Regions from separate parts of the Homo sapiens genome. Here region 2 is linked to region 1. The links are contacts of gene promoters, found by promoter capture Hi-C in human tissues and cell types (Jung and others, 2019). All regions are on one chromosome and are shown on one strand. The core of a region is centred on a gene start or on the middle of the fragment in contact, and the rest is flanking DNA. Distances in the headings are between cores, read along the strand shown. Region 1 holds the start of EFCAB6 (EF-hand calcium binding domain 6). Region 2 overlaps EFCAB6-AS1 (EFCAB6 antisense RNA 1).

The links. Contacts are between HindIII fragments. The study calls those that stand out against the background at their distance.
Region 2: a contact is called between a fragment that was not itself captured here and the fragment with the promoter of EFCAB6 in region 1, in 2 of the 25 tissues and cell types used here (IMR-90 fibroblasts and dorsolateral prefrontal cortex).

The regions. Positions count from the first base shown.
Region 1 is chr22:43,810,183-43,817,380 of GRCh38, forward strand. It overlaps EFCAB6 (EF-hand calcium binding domain 6), which reads right to left and starts at 2,123. Exons shown (of 32, transcript NM_022785.4): 1 at 1,986-2,123. It overlaps EFCAB6-DT (EFCAB6 divergent transcript), which reads left to right and starts at 2,240. Exons shown (of 2, transcript NR_186822.1): 1 at 2,240-2,802; 2 at 6,732-7,198. RefSeq lists a silencer at 1,645-1,886 and enhancers at 2,218-2,487, 2,729-3,530. The HindIII fragment of the contact is 13,383 bases long and covers 1-7,198 here.
Region 2 is chr22:43,524,155-43,531,814 of GRCh38, forward strand. All of the region lies in intron 2 of EFCAB6-AS1 (EFCAB6 antisense RNA 1), which reads left to right. EFCAB6 (EF-hand calcium binding domain 6) reads right to left here. Exons shown (of 32, transcript NM_022785.4): 31 at 6,661-6,810; 32 at 4,624-4,821. The coding sequence ends at 4,699. Among named protein-coding and RNA genes, the nearest start is that of EFCAB6-AS1, 12 kb to the left of the region's middle. RefSeq lists an enhancer at 3,539-4,038. The HindIII fragment of the contact is 6,308 bases long and covers 1-6,283 here.

The DNA of each region.
Region 1 (7,198 bases), core at 873-3,372:
CTTTTCCATAGCCAACTTGTGAGGACTAAATTTAAAAAGTATGAGGGACCAAACTGTGCTTGGCACACAGTAAGTGTTCAATTAGTATTAGCCAGTAGTAGTATTAGTAGTTGCTGTAGTAGAAATAGAAGTAGTAAAACTGTGGACAAATAGATGGAAAGAAAAAGTAACAAATGGTACCTGAAACAAAGTAAACAAAATAGCAGTGAAAGATCAAAACCAAAAGTAGAAAATGAAGCTTTTAATACTGAAAGGGTATCATATTCATGTTATCTCTATTCACAGTTTTCTCAAACCTGTCTCAGTTGTTAACAACTGCCTTGTTAACAACCAGTGGCCTCTCACCAGATTCCTGATCTGGGCAGGCACCAGGCTACTAAACATCCTCATGGAGCTGGTTCTGTCTCCAGGTGCCAGTCAGCTGCAGAGATCAGAGCATGGGTGCTATAGAGATCTCTGTACAAGGGGAAGAGGTAGATAGCTGGAACAGGGCAGTTTTTCCCTGGAGAGCGAAATTTACAGTCTCAGGTAAGCACTTCTTGATAAATATCTATGATCACCTATCATGAACCAAGCATTAAAATAAGCATAGAGGAAAAAGGGAAAGCACAGATAACTAAAATAAAATCCTCATCCTCAAAGGATCTTGCAATAAGACTGGATAGGAGGCAAATATCTTCACATATAATCAAAGGGGCCATTTCTGACTCACTTTCATATCCCCAGAACTTAGCCAAGTAAACGTTTGCTGAATTGAAGGCAATGGATAAAAGACATGAACTGTAGTGTATGAAAGTAGAATTGATTTACAGCATTTCTGTTAAGGCCACCCATTTAGGAACACATATTAAATTAGGCCAAGGCGGGCGGATGGATCACTTGAGGTCAGGAGTTTGAAACCAACCTGGCCAACATGGTGAAATCCCGTCTGTACTAAAAATACAAAAATTAGCTGGGCGTGGTGGCAGGCGCCTGTAATCCCAGCTACTTGGGACACCGAGGCACGAGAATCGCTTGAACCCGGGAGGTGGAGGTTGCAGTGAGCTGGGATCGCTGCACTCCAGCCTGGGTGACAGAGGAAGACTCCATCAGGAAAGAAAAGGAGAGGCGAGGGGAGGGAAGGGGAGGGGAGCGGAGGGGAAGGGGAGGGGAGGAGAGAGGAGGGGAGGAAGGGAAGAAAGGGGAAGGGAAGGGAGGGGAGGGGAGGGAGAAAAGAAAAGAAAAGAAAAAAGAAAAGAAAAGAAGAGTCCTCTTAACAGGGGCAAGACATCCTGAAAGGCAAAGATTTGGAGAGAAAGGAAGGGAGTAGAGAGAGGGGTGATTTGGACAACCTTCAAGTAAGCCCTATACAGATGTATACCTCACAAAGTGCTTCCAAACAAAATTTCTGAGGGAGGCAGGGGTAATTATGTGCAGGCTGTGGGAGAAGAGTGTAAAAGAGCAGAGATTTTGCCGTGATACAGAAATGAGTTTGAATTCTGGCTCAGAAACTTCCTAAGATAGTTGTGTGACTTTGGAAAAGCCCCTTCACCCCACAGGTTTCAAGTCCTCGTCTGTCTACAGGAGGGAGTCAATCATGACATTCACAAGACTGCTGTGGGCACAAATGAAATCAGGGGCATGAGACATGTTGTAAACTGGAGAGATTTAGGGCGTTTCCACACACATTTCCCAGCTGATTCTCACAGAGAGGCAGGGAAGAAGACGTCACCACCGTCAGCGTTGTTTATCGTTCTTCTCCACATATCAGGTAAGCTACGGGAACAGGGGCCCTACTGTTCCCCACAGGGCCCCAGGGCCTACAACATGCCTGGCACAAGCAGACGCGCCATGAACACCTGAATAAACGAATCACCACCCCTTCGTCCCTGGGGGTGGGCAGCAGCGCCGGCCTTCTCAGGGCAGTGAGACCCACGGAGCTGCCCGCCCGCCCGGCCCCTCCTCGGCCTGTCGCACGCGCGTGGCCACCCCGAATACAGCCTTACCGGGAACCCCTCCTCGATTCTCCGCCTAGCTGGGCCGGCACCCGCGTGCGCGGACCCCAAGCCGCGGGGTCTCAGAGGGGCTGCCCATTCGGCGTCTCTAGGACGCTGTTGCCCGAGAGACGACGGCAGTCGCTGACTGGAGAATGAGCCTACGCGCCTGGCAAGAAGCTGAGCTGTGATTGGTCAATTGGAGATAAACGAGGAGGGGGCGGGGCCAGGTCAGTCCCGCGCCTCCGCTCCCGGAAGAAATTTCCGCCGGAAGTCCCGTTCTCTGGGGAGCGGGAACCCTGGCGACCCGTGTCATGGGAGCGGGTTTCTGTTACGTGGGCTTTAGCGCGAGCTGGGCGGTCGGCCCGGTCCCACCGAACTGCATAGGGCCGTGTAGCCGGGGGAAGTCAGCCCCCTGCTCTGAGAAGCAGACTCTGCATCTGTAAAAGGCTAAGCGTGCCCACTGGGGCCTGTGGTCAGGATTGGCTGCAGTGAGGTCCGCAAAGCCCCTACCGCATCCTGCGCCTTCGTTAGGGTGAGCAGTCATGGGGACTCGCATTGTGCCACCACGTAGCGGGTCTCACTGGGTCCGCTTGTCTGCTCGAGGAGACAGCCGGTGAGGACGGGAGCTGGCCTGCTTTGCCCAGGCTGTAACCTCAGCCTCCGCCCATACCCACAGTAAGCATCCATTCCATTGATATTCGCTAAATGAGTGAATTATTACTAAGACAGAGGGCCGAGTGGAAGCGCCATAAATCACGTGAGTGAATGTAATTGTTGTCGCTGACCCTATGGAGCACTTCCCTTGCCAGGCACTCACCCATCCTAGGTATGTACTTTACATGTAATTGTCATCTTCATTTGTCTTCACAACAACCCTGTGAGGTGGGTGCTGTGGTTACTCCCATTTTACAGATAGGTAACTGAGGCACACAGAGCATTTTGTTCAAGGACACACTGCCAGTCAGGGGTAGGAGCAGAATGAGAACCTATGGAGCTTGCTCTTAGGCACCCTGCCACACTGCTCACTGTGGGAGAGAAGCAGCCAGGCAGACGTGTGCAGCTTGGAATTCCTTGCACACATGGCTGCGGCAGGTCAATTAGGTGCCCTGGTGTGTGCTGCAAAGATGGATACTATGCGGTCCCTGCTGGGCACTCTGACTACTTCACTGGGCAGCTAGTTTTCCTGTTCACCAAGAGAATTCTTTCCCATGGCTTGTCTCAGACCTCCCGCACTCACTACTTCCTCACCGGACTCAATGACCATGGGTCTTATCCCATTGAGAAAATGTAATGCATAAGAATGGAATGCACTCCTTCACAATCACTTTGGCATTCATCGCCTCTTTTCCTCTTGCCCCAAAAGAGGGTCTCTTACAGAGGCCAGTCCCTCTAACTGTGTCCTGGATCCCTCCCCATTTGCCTTCTTTATTATAGGCAGTGCTCTAAGTGTGGTCTGGGAATCCCTGGGGATCCTGAGACCCTTTCAGACTGTCCATGGGGCCAAAAAATACTTTCATAACACTTAAGACTTTACTTGCTTTTTCATTGTTTTTCTCTCATAAGTATATGGGGGGATTTTCCAGAAGCTACATGATGTGTGATATTGCAACAAATTGAATGCAAAAGAAGGTAAGAGATCCAGCGGTCTTGTACTAAGCCAGATGTTAAAGAGATCTGCAAAAATAGAAAACTGCCCCTCTTTTCACTTTTTTGGAAAGTGTAATTTTTCATTAGAGAACGTTAACATCTAATGGGTTTATTATTTTTAATGAGTTAATAAATTTTTTATCAATTGTATTTTCTAACATGGTAAATATTGATAGATATAAACATAAATAAAAGTTTTTTGGGATCCTCAATACTTTTTAAGAGTGTGAATGGATCCTGAGGCCAAAAAGTTTGGTCCTGAGATCAAAAGGGCTTCAGTTATTCCCTCTCTCATGATAGCCAAGAGTCTCATTCTTTCTCTTTCTCTCTTTCCCTCCTTCTTGGAACATGCTCTAGTATCTCACATCTTTAAAAAAAAAATAGATGATCTTCTGGTTTCCACCCCATTTCTCTGCTCCTCTTTAACCTGCTTCTCAGTAGAGCTGTCTATACATGCTGTCTTTCAGTTACCAAATTTCACAGAAGCGTGACTCTCATTGCCTGGTAACTGGCATTCTCACAAATACTTCTTCTCTACTTGGCCGTACATTACTTGACCTCTCAGTAGCATTCAGCCCAGTTGATCACTCCTTTCTGCCTGAAATACTTCAGGCTTCTCTAATACCACACCAACTACTCAATTCTTGGGCCCCACTGGTGACTTCCCTCCTCTGTGTGGCCTTTGGATGTTAGGGCCCCTCTGACCCTGTCGTAGGTCCTGCTGTTATGCTTCTCACCAGCCTTGACCCCTCTACTGGAATGTACTGGAGATCACTCAGACTTAAGCCATCCATATTGCCCTTGATCCACTCACCTCCCTCACTCACCTATTACTTTTTTTTTTTTTTCGAGACGGAGTCTTGCTCTGTCGCCTAGACTGGAGTGCAATGGTGCGATCTCGACTCAGTGCAACCTCCACCTCCCAGGTTTCAGCAATTCTCTGCCTCAGCCTCCCGAGTAGCTGGGATTACAGGCGTGAGCCACCATGCCCAGCTGATTTTTGTATTTTTAGTAGAGACAGGGTTTCACCATGTTGGCCAGGCTCGTCTTGAACTCCTGACCTCGTGATCCGCCTGCCTCGGCCTCCCAAAGTGCTGGGATTACAGGTGTGAGCTACTGTGCCTGCCCGCACTCACCTATTCCAAAGCAATGCTCAAACTAGGAAGCCTTGTTGTTACCCTCAATGATCACTACCTCATACCCCATATCTAGTGCTTCAGCAAGTCTTGTCGATTCTAACACCAGAATACGTACATGGTAGCAATCTCATCCATTCTCTCCAAGTTCCCCTGCACTACCTTGCCTTAAAAGCCTTCTTATGCTAAAAATAAAAATCTTTAAAACAGCATGCAGGGCCACTGGGACCATCCTACAACCTCAACCTCATTCTCCCCCCAGGATCGCTATGGTCACAAAGCCCAGAAGCCAGCTTGAATGGGGCTCCTGCTGGCCAGAATAATGAAGGACAGTAAAAGAAATAGGAGTCATGAGTCCAGGCCCAGGAGCGATGGACAGATAGAATAAATGCAGGACAAGGGAGGGCACGTGCTTGCAGTAGCAGGCCTAGGGACAAATGGTCATGCAGGAGGACTAGAGCTGAAAAGCCATCATGTTGCAACCACTGAGTGAAGATTGATTCAGGCAAGGATCATTCACGGGTGCTTCATCTCGGGGTTCTTTGGATGGGGAGCAGGATATTTGCATTGTTTTAAAGGATAGTCCCACAGATCACTTATTACTTACAGGAGAAAAAGTAGTCATAATACAAAAGAAAAATGGACAATGCTTGGATACCATAATAAAAATTAACACTACCAACAAGGAGCATGGACATTGTGTGGCTTCAGATGTAATGTGAAGGACAACCTCCGTTGAAAAGGGCAACTGCTGTAGTATTCTAATCTGGAATGCATCACCTAATCCTATCATAAGAAGACATTAGGAAAAAAAAAATAAAGATAATTCCATTTTTTTAATGGTTTTTGGTGTTTTGTTTGTTTGTTTGTGACAGAGTCTCGCTGTGTTGCCCAGGCTGGAGTGTAGTGATGCGATCTCAGCTCACTGCACCCTCCACCTCCTGGGTTCAAGCGATGCTGCTGCCTCAGCCTCCCAAGTAGCTGGGATTACGGGCACACACCACCAAGCCCAGCTAATTTTTGTATTTTTAGTAGAGATAGGGTTTCACCATGTTGGCCAGGCTGGTCTTGAACTCCTGATCTCAAGTGATCTGCCTGCCTCAGCCTTCCAAAGTGCTGGGATTACAGGCATGAGCCACTGTGCCCAGCCTGTAACTTACTTTCAAATGCTTCTGAAAAAATTATGTATTGATAGATAGCAAATAATAAAGCAATTGGGGCAAAACGTGCACAGTTTAAGTGGATCTGAGAAAGGGAGTTGTATTAGATAGGGCTGCGGTAACAAATTTCCACAGACTGGGCAGCTTGGACAACAGAAATGTATTGTCTCACAGTCCTGGAAGCATCTTCAATCCAAAAGAACCTGAGGGATAATTTTAGGTGATAAACCCTGGCCAATGTCTGGCTGTGTGGGCAAACATGGAATTCTAGTAGGGAATACCTTAATGTCTTTTGCACTGGCCTGCTCTCAACAGTGAAGCAGGCCGGGCACGGTGGCTCATGCCTGTAATCCCAGCACTTTGGGAGGCTGTGGCAGGAGGATCACCTGAGGTCAGGAGTTCGAGACCAGCCTGGCCAACATAGTGAAATCCCATCTCTACTAAAACTACAATGATTAGTCAGGCGTGGTAGTGGGCACCTGTAATCTCAGCTACTTGGGAGGCTGAGGCAGGAGAATTGCTTGAACCAGGGAGGCGGAGGTTGCAGTGAGCCAAGATTGCGCCACTGCACTCCAGCCTGGACAACAGAGCGAGACTCCGTCTCAAAAAAAAAAAAAAAAAAAAAACAACAGTAACAGTGACGCACACATAAGTGGTGTACAACTGGATCAATGTAGCCAAGAACCCAGAAACTCAAAACCCTTGCTGATTTCCTTGAACCCAAGGATAATTTTTCTATATGTTGAAATGACTAATTAGATGAGTCCATCATGAAGTTTTGTCACGTGATTCTCTCTTTTTTCTCCTTAAAGATCATCTTCAATCCAGAGGGTTTTCCTTGTTCCAGGAAACGTCTCACCTCCATGTGCAGATTTAATTTTTACAGAAACTGAAATTTCCCTCATTTATTATCTAGATGAGCCCCTAAAATCTATTCAATAAGGTTTGATCTTTGATGGAACAGACCAGAGTTGTATAATGTGACAGTGGCCCCAAGGAACAGTTTGTAGGAGGAGATTGTTGTCTTCTCTGAAAAAAACTTCCCAGAAGACATTGATGGTTCCCTTAGGTGCCCTGCAGTGGGTCCACTTCCAACAGGCTGAAGCCTGGATTTGGTGGGTGAGGGTCCTACCTTTTCCTAGATACCATTCAGCATCACTGAAGCCAGTAAACTCACCTCCTGAGGAACCGTTACCATCTGTACTATTTACACCCATGGCATGAGTCTGCTGCTCAAGACCTTTGATGAGAATCTTGAAAAGGAAACCATGAATTGCTG
Region 2 (7,660 bases), core at 1,880-4,379, 290 kb before region 1:
TCCACCCGCCTTGGCCTCCCAAAGTGCTGGGATTACAGGTGTGAGCCACCGCACCCAGCCTAAAATTTATTTTATGGTAAGTATGCCATCAGTGAGTTCCTTCAGTTTTTGTGTGCCTAGAAAATCCAATGTATCTCTTTATTTTTGAAAGGTATTTTGCTGGTTACAAAATTTGAGCTTGATGATTTTCTTTCAGCACTCTGAAAATGTTATGCCATTGTCTGCTGGTTAGCATGGTTTCTGAGAAGTATGCTATAATTCTTATCCTTGTTCCTCTGTAGGTCATGTACATCTTTTTTCTCTAGCTGCCTTCTTTTTTTTTGCAGCAATTCGAATATGATATTCCTAGAGGTGCGTGTGTGTGTGTGTGTGTGTGTGTGTGTGTGTGTGTGTGTGTGTGTGTGTATCCTGCCAGGTTCTATATGCTTCTGTTCTCTGTTGTTTAGTGTTTGTAACTAATTTTGGAAAATCCTCAGCCATTATTTATTCAAATATTTCTTCTGCACCATGTTCTCTTTCTTTTCCTCCTGAATTATGTGCATGTTAGACTTTTTTTTTTTTTTTTTTTGACACAGAGTCTCACCGCTCTGTCACCCAGGCTGGAGTGCAGTGGTGCGATCTCGGCTCACTGTAACCTCTGCCTCCCGGGTTCAAGCAATTCTCCTGCCTCAGTCACCTGAGTAGCTGGGATTACAGGCACACACCACCATACCCCACTGATTTTTGTATTTTTAGTAGAGACGAGGTTTCACCATGTTGGTCTTGAACTCCTGACCTCATGATCTGCCCACCTCGGCCTCCCAAAGTGCTGGGATTACAGGCATGAGCCACTGTGCCCGGCCCCATATTAGACCATCTTATACTGTCCCACAGCTCTTATATATTCTGCGATTTTTCCCCACTCTTTTTCTCTCTGCATTTAGGTTTAGATACATGCTATTGACCTATCTTCAAGCTCACTCATTCTTTCCTTGGTTATGTAGAATCTACTGATGAGCGAGCCTGTCAAAGGCAATCTTCATCTTTATTACTGTGTTTTTTTTATTTCTAGCCTTTCTGATTCTTGCAGTTTTCATCTCTCTGCTGAAATTGGCTGGTCGTGTGTTGTCTTTCTTTTCCATTAGCGCTCTAACACATAAACCAGTTATTTAAACATTTTTCTAATGGTTCCAAAATCTGTCATGTCTGAGTCTGATTCTTGTGATTGCTTTGTCTTCTCAAACTGTTTTTATAATTGCCCTTGGTATACCTCAAAATTTTTTGTTGAAAGCCAGACATTTGTATAGCAGGGCCCAGCAAACTTGCTCTGTGGAGGATCAGATAGTAAATATTTTAGGCTTTGAGGTCCACATACATGCAGTCGGTTGCATTTCTTGTTCTTTTCTTCCTTCCTCTTTCTCCTCCTCCTTCTTCAACCCTTAAAAATGATGGACCCTCAAGGCTGCTGAACAGGTTCAGACTAATTGTACTGACTCAGCCTCAGGAAGTCAGGAAAGCTTCGTGGAAGAGGTGGCTTTGAGAGTTTCGAAGGAATACCCGGCATTTCCTGAGGAGTAGGTGGAAGAAACTGCTGGTGCCAAGTGCAAAGATATGTAAGAACAAGCATGGGGAAGCTGAAGTCCAGCACACAGGATGGGATCTGGGCACCCAGGTCGGGCCTCCAATGCTGAGGCAGGGCACATGGGCAGGGCATCCATCTGCCCCTCACCACTAAGCATGCAACCCTCCATCATGGTGGGGATTTTAATAGGTTACTTTGCAAATTTGGGGACACACTTTCAATTTCTGGGGTTGGAATAACAGCCGGCAGATGCCAAGCCTTCTTTCCAGAGCTCATTGAAAGCTCAGTGTCACCTGATTTGTTTTTACAGGGGAGACTGCATTTTAAAACTGTTATGTCAGAGTGTGGTGCCAGCAGTGCTGGTGGGACATGCATGGGAAGATCCAGAACTTGTTTTGCCAGAAGCTGGGAGATGTGGCCAAGAGAATGTGGGTCTGACCCCACAGCCACCTCCTAGTGCTATGGGGAGTCCAGCACTCACAGACTCCATCCACAGAGAAGCCCCCAACACCAGAGTTGCTCCCCAACTTGCCAGCACTCCCTGCAGAACCTGGTCAGCTTTCCTTCTGGGAAAGGGACCCAGAGGCTGTGCCCTGCCAGCATTAAAGCACCTGCTGTGTGCCAGGCTGGGGGCGCAGGTCAGTGTTCTCACCCTATGGGTGGAGTCTGGGCCCAGCAGTGGGTGCAGAAGGGAGTGACTCTCTCTGCCAAGCGGTGACAGCATCGAACGGGGAGCTCAGCCTCTGCCCAGGGGTTACAGGAGGATTGGAGCTGGGCCTCAGAGGAAGAGTACGCGGGCTGTGCAGATGAGAACAGAAGTAGTCCCAGAAGGAGGAGCCAGCAGGAGCCAGGGCTTGGAGGCAGGGATGTGGGCACAGGGCTGAGTGAGTCCTGGTGCTGCCTGCAGGGGAGCCTGCCCGCCCACCTTCAGGGCCTCTGACACTGGCTTGGGCTGTTACTCACTGTCTGGGCCAAATCCTGCAAGCTGTGAGACTCTGGAAAACTTCCGGTACCTCAGTTTCCTCATCTGTCAAATGGGGATGCTCACAGGAGTCTAAATGATGATGTGTGTGAAGCGCTGGGTTTGAGTCCCACACACCTGTGCTTACTGGGTGCTGGCACTGCCCTGTCCCAGCCTGAGCCCCGCACACCTGTGCTCACTGGGCGCTGATACTGCCCTGTCCCAGCCTGAGCCCCACACACCTGTGCTCACTGGGCGCTGATACTGTCCTGTACCATCCTGAGTCCTGCACACCTGTGCTCACTGGGTGCTGATACTGCCCTGTCCCAGCCTGAGTCCCGCACACCTGTGCTCACTGGCTGCTGATACTGCCCTGTCCCGGCCTGAGTCCCGCACACCTGTGCTCACTGACTGCTGGCACTGGCCTGTCCTCAGCCTGAGTCTGGCATGCCTGTGTTCACTGGGAGCTGACACTGCCCTGCCTCTGGCCGGAGTCTCAGGCTGGTGCCCCTGGCCCTCACAGGCCTTCCTTATTCTGGGCTGAAGCCTCTCTCATGGGAACATCTGCTGCCCACAGGCCCAGGTCCCACAACAAAGGTGACACAAGTGTGGTCCCACCATTTCTACAGATGAGGACGCTGAAGGGATGGGACCTGGTACAAAGTCACATGGAGGAGCAGCTGGGGTCCAGGGCGTCTCTGTCCCGTAATCACTGCATGGCCCTGTTGATGTGCCTACTCAGGGTCCCCTTCCCCTTCCCTGAACTTGGGGCTGCCTGAGCACCCCGTTCCCCCTGCAGCGGTCCAGCCTGAAATGAGGAGGAAACTAAGGACAGATGGAAACAAAGGTGACCCCAGGAAACATTTTCCAGGAAATAGAAGGCCTGCGCGGGCTGGGCGGGAGCCTGTCCTCCCAATCACACCCATCCAATGCGCGGCTCTGCCACTCAGGGAGAGATCTGCTCACCTCAGGGTGTGGCCTCATTTGGACCCTGTGCAGGGGCAGGGAAGGGCGTTTTGGTGGGCAAGGCCTGGGGCCCAGGTGGAGGGGAGGTGCTCCCCCCACACCCCATATCCTGCCTGCTGCTCCCCAGTTCCTTGGAGAACCTTCCAGAAGGTGGCAAACGCTGCCTGAGTCTCTCAGCTGAGTCACAGTCCATGAAAGCGGAGTGACGATTTTCAAACTTCTCTTGTCAAACCTGTCAGTTCCAAGGAAGGGCCCTCTCAGAACTGTCCCTGGTGGGGGTTACGGCCAGTGGCCACTAGGCTTGGGCTCAGGAAGGCGGAGGGAGGCCCAAAGCTCCAGGGGGTCTCACTCAGGCGTGAGTTGCTCTTCATGGAGTCAGGCTGGCTGGCATCCCTGAGCAAGACAGCGATGGGGCGGTCAGTGCCTGTGCCTCTAGGAGCAGAGACATGGCCACCCTGACTGCAGCAGGGGGCTCAGATGTCCTCTGATCCAGGACCCAGGAAGCTGGGGGGTCAAAGGAGGCAGCAGTCCTTGGGTAATGGGGTGCAGGGCCCCAACTGCTCTGGACTGGAGGAGACACCTGGCAGGGGCCATGAACAAAACCTCCGGAAAGTCCAAGCTTTTAAGAATGTTAGCGCAGAGGCTCATGCCTGCAATCCCAGCACTTTGGAAGGCTGAGGTGGGTGGGTCACCTGAGGTCAGGAGTTCGAGACCAGCCTGGCCAACATGGCGAAACCCTGTCTCTATTAAAAATACAAAAATTAGCCGGGTGTGGTGGGTGCCTGTAATCCCGGCTACTCGGGAGGCTGAGGCAGGAGAATTGCTTGAACCCAGGGGGCGGAGGTTGCAGTGAGCCGATAGCGCCACTTCACTCCAGCCTGGGCAAAAGAGCCAAACTCCGTGTAAAAAAAAAAGTTAGCATTAGTAATTATTTTATAGTGTCAAGAATCATTCTTGCAAAGATTATTTGTTCAGACTAACAAGTGAGGGTGCCCAAGACATAGTGGTAGCACCTGGCACCTGGAGAGCAAGCATCCTATGCCAGAACCCAGGGCAGCTGTGCCTACCCCCGACCCAGAGACAGGCGGGCTGGGCTTGGGCTTGAGTTTTGTTTTTTTTGAAAATTCATGAAACCCCCAAATTATAGGATTTTATTAGCCTTGAAACAGGCCCTGTGGCTGTCGTCCCGCTGGGCACACAGCAGGGGTGTCTACTGGAGGAATGCCCGGAGGAAGTCGTTGTAGGAGATTTTTGAAGACAGCGTCTTATCGTAATACTCCAGAATATGGAAGAACTCTTCCTCAGAGAGGTTGATGCTGTACTGTCTCAGGACCTGGAAGACAGAGAAAAGGGGCCTCTGAGGCTTGTTTGGTGCCCTAGGTTAAGGAGGCAGGCTGCCAGGAAGGGGCTGGGGGACACATCCACCTGATCCCCAACCCCACTTCCGATGTCAGCCTCCCATCTGTGCGCTCTCTCTATGCCCTCTCAACCTCTGCCCAAACAGGAAGCAGCCTCCAAGGGCAGCCCTGTGTGCATCTGGGTGTGAAACTGGAGCAGACAGGAGGTTGATCACCTTTGCCTCCCTGAGGGGCTGAAGGCTGGTCAACGTATTCAGACAAGGCTGATGATCAGAGAGGTGGGGGCTCAAGGGGAGACCTGGCCATGCAGCCCTAACTTGGGGCAGAGCCTCAGGGTGCGCCCAGGCAGGGGAGGGCAGGGCCAGTGGGTGCTGAGTGCAGAGAGTTGCTGTGATAAGACCGTAACAGAGCCTGGAGCAGAGCCTGCTGGTGGTAAACCCAATACTGACTGCCCCTTCCTCTTCAGTTATAGAACCTGACTCTCTCCCAGCTCCTCTGTATCCAGCTAACCGGGAACATGTCTCAGCCTCTCTTGCAGCTAGGTATGTTCTGGCCTGAGAAGCTAAGTAAGAATGTTATGTAGAACATCCAGGAAGCCTCCTTTAAAGGAGAGGGGCATGCCCTTTTCTCTCCTGTTTTTCCACCTGCTGCCTGGAATATGGCTGTGATGCTGGGGCTCCAGCAGCCACCTTGGATCATGAGGTGGCCTAGAGGAAGGAAGCCAGGAGTTGAGAACAGCAGAGCAAAAATGTGGTCCCTGATGATTGTCCAGCCACCACACCAGCTCTGACCTTCCTACCTCTGGACTTCTTTTATGTGGGAGTGAAATAAACTTTCACCTTAAGCTGCTATTTTCCCCGCCCCATTATGTGAAGCTGAAACAAATCCTGACAGACCCTCATAGTATATAAAGATGAGGCCATACATTTCCTATCCACATTTGCGTTATAACTTGTTTCTAGGAGGAGACTGGAAAGCAGGGCTAGATGGCCCAGAGGTCCTATGGGGCTGAGGTCAGCAGGCCTGGCCATTGGGCCCCATGGGATGAAGGCAGAAAAGGAAGCTGAGCCTGGTGTCTGAGACGGCCCCTCAATTACGCCATCTGATCTGTGACTCTGTGGAGGGCAAGGTTTCTTTTGCCACCTTCCCAGCACCACGCCCGAATTCCTGGGAAGTTGCCGGAAGGGAATAACAGAACCTGCCCTACTTCCTTCCTTTCTTTGCATGAGGGATAGGGAGAATCCCTGACTGAGATTTATACTTAACCCCGAAGGAAAGAGGAACGTGAATGTGGATTGGAAAACCACTGCGGGGTGTTTGTTAGGCTCTGGGGGTGGGACATGGAGGGCACCCAGGGACATCAGGGCAGATGCCCAATGGTGGAGCCCCGCTGTGTACTGCAGGGGCAGGGCTCACTTTGCAGGCCCCTTGGAAGGTCCAACATAGGTCAGAGATGCTCTTCAGAGCCTGCAGGAGAGCCCAGGTGTGGGGAGAGGGCTCGGAGCAGCAGCAGCAGTGATGGCAGTGCCTTAAGGAACCTGGGCTCAGGCACTGACCCTGAGGAGCTGGCGATGCAGGTATGGGGCATCCACGCAGGGCTCCAGCAACCTTTGGGAAGGAGAACCCGGGGTCTGAAGGTGAGGCGAGTGGACCCAGGACTGGATAACTTGGGGGTCCCAGGGAAGTGAGATCTGAAGCAGCCAGGTCACACCGGGCCTTCGGCAGCAGGTAGAGGGCTCCCCGTGGGAAGTTTCTGGCCGCTGGCATTTGGCAGCTGCTCCCTGCAGAGGCACTGGGCGCAGAGCTGTGCTCACCGTCCTGAAATCTGCGACGCTTAGCAGCCCTGTTCCAGCCTCATCATAGCTTTTGAACGTGCGCCGCATTGGCCTCCAGCAGTGCACAATTTTGGGCTGAATACGCAGCAGAGCAGAGTAAAAAGATGGCGTCTCCGCGCCGGCTTCTTTCTAGACACAAGACAAGAAGGGGTGAGGAGGGAGCTTTTGAACACGAGGGTTGGGGTGGGCTCCTCCTCGCCTCGCCCCCGCCTCGCCCAGCCCTGCTCCGGCTTCACCTCCCAACCTGCTCCGCTGGCTCTGAATCGAGGAGGGAGCCTGCCAGAACTCGTCACAAAGATGCGCACCCGCCCCCTGACCATTGTGTGGGCTGTTTAAAAACGTGTATTACATCAGCCATCTCATTTACACCTCCCCACTGGCAACCCGGAAAGAAGGCAGGTCTCTATCCCCACTTCACAGATTAGGAAGTGGAGACTCGGGGAGGTAAAGTGACTTGGGCTTTGACCCCAACACACTTCAGGCCACACCACCTCCCAGGGAATGCAACGAGATGGCCGGGCAGATATGGGCCAATTTGAAAATAGTTTGAGGAAAAAAAGAGATTTCAGTCTGTGTTTTCTAGTAAGTTATTATAATGAACAGTGTTAAAAAAAATTCACAAGGTTGTAATTATATCTAGTAATTAGAACACTACACTGTGATTACTTCATTTAGGTGCTATTAGATTGAAAACAAGACATTTGAACATGATTTAGCCCCAATGTGTTTGAATATCACAAAGGTGAACGGTAGGCAACAATGCGTAACACATCTTGGGAAAGTTGAATTTTAACATAACACTATGTAAGACAGATGAGCACAGGGTTAAGCTGCTTTCATTTTTTTTTTACATCATTTGGCACGTATGATGTGTGCTCCCCAGGTACCCAAGACTTCATGAGCTGCCAATTTGCCCAATCAGCTGATCCACAGGTGGGGAAGAGAGGGTGTGGGGCTCACATGACCTCCCACACCACAC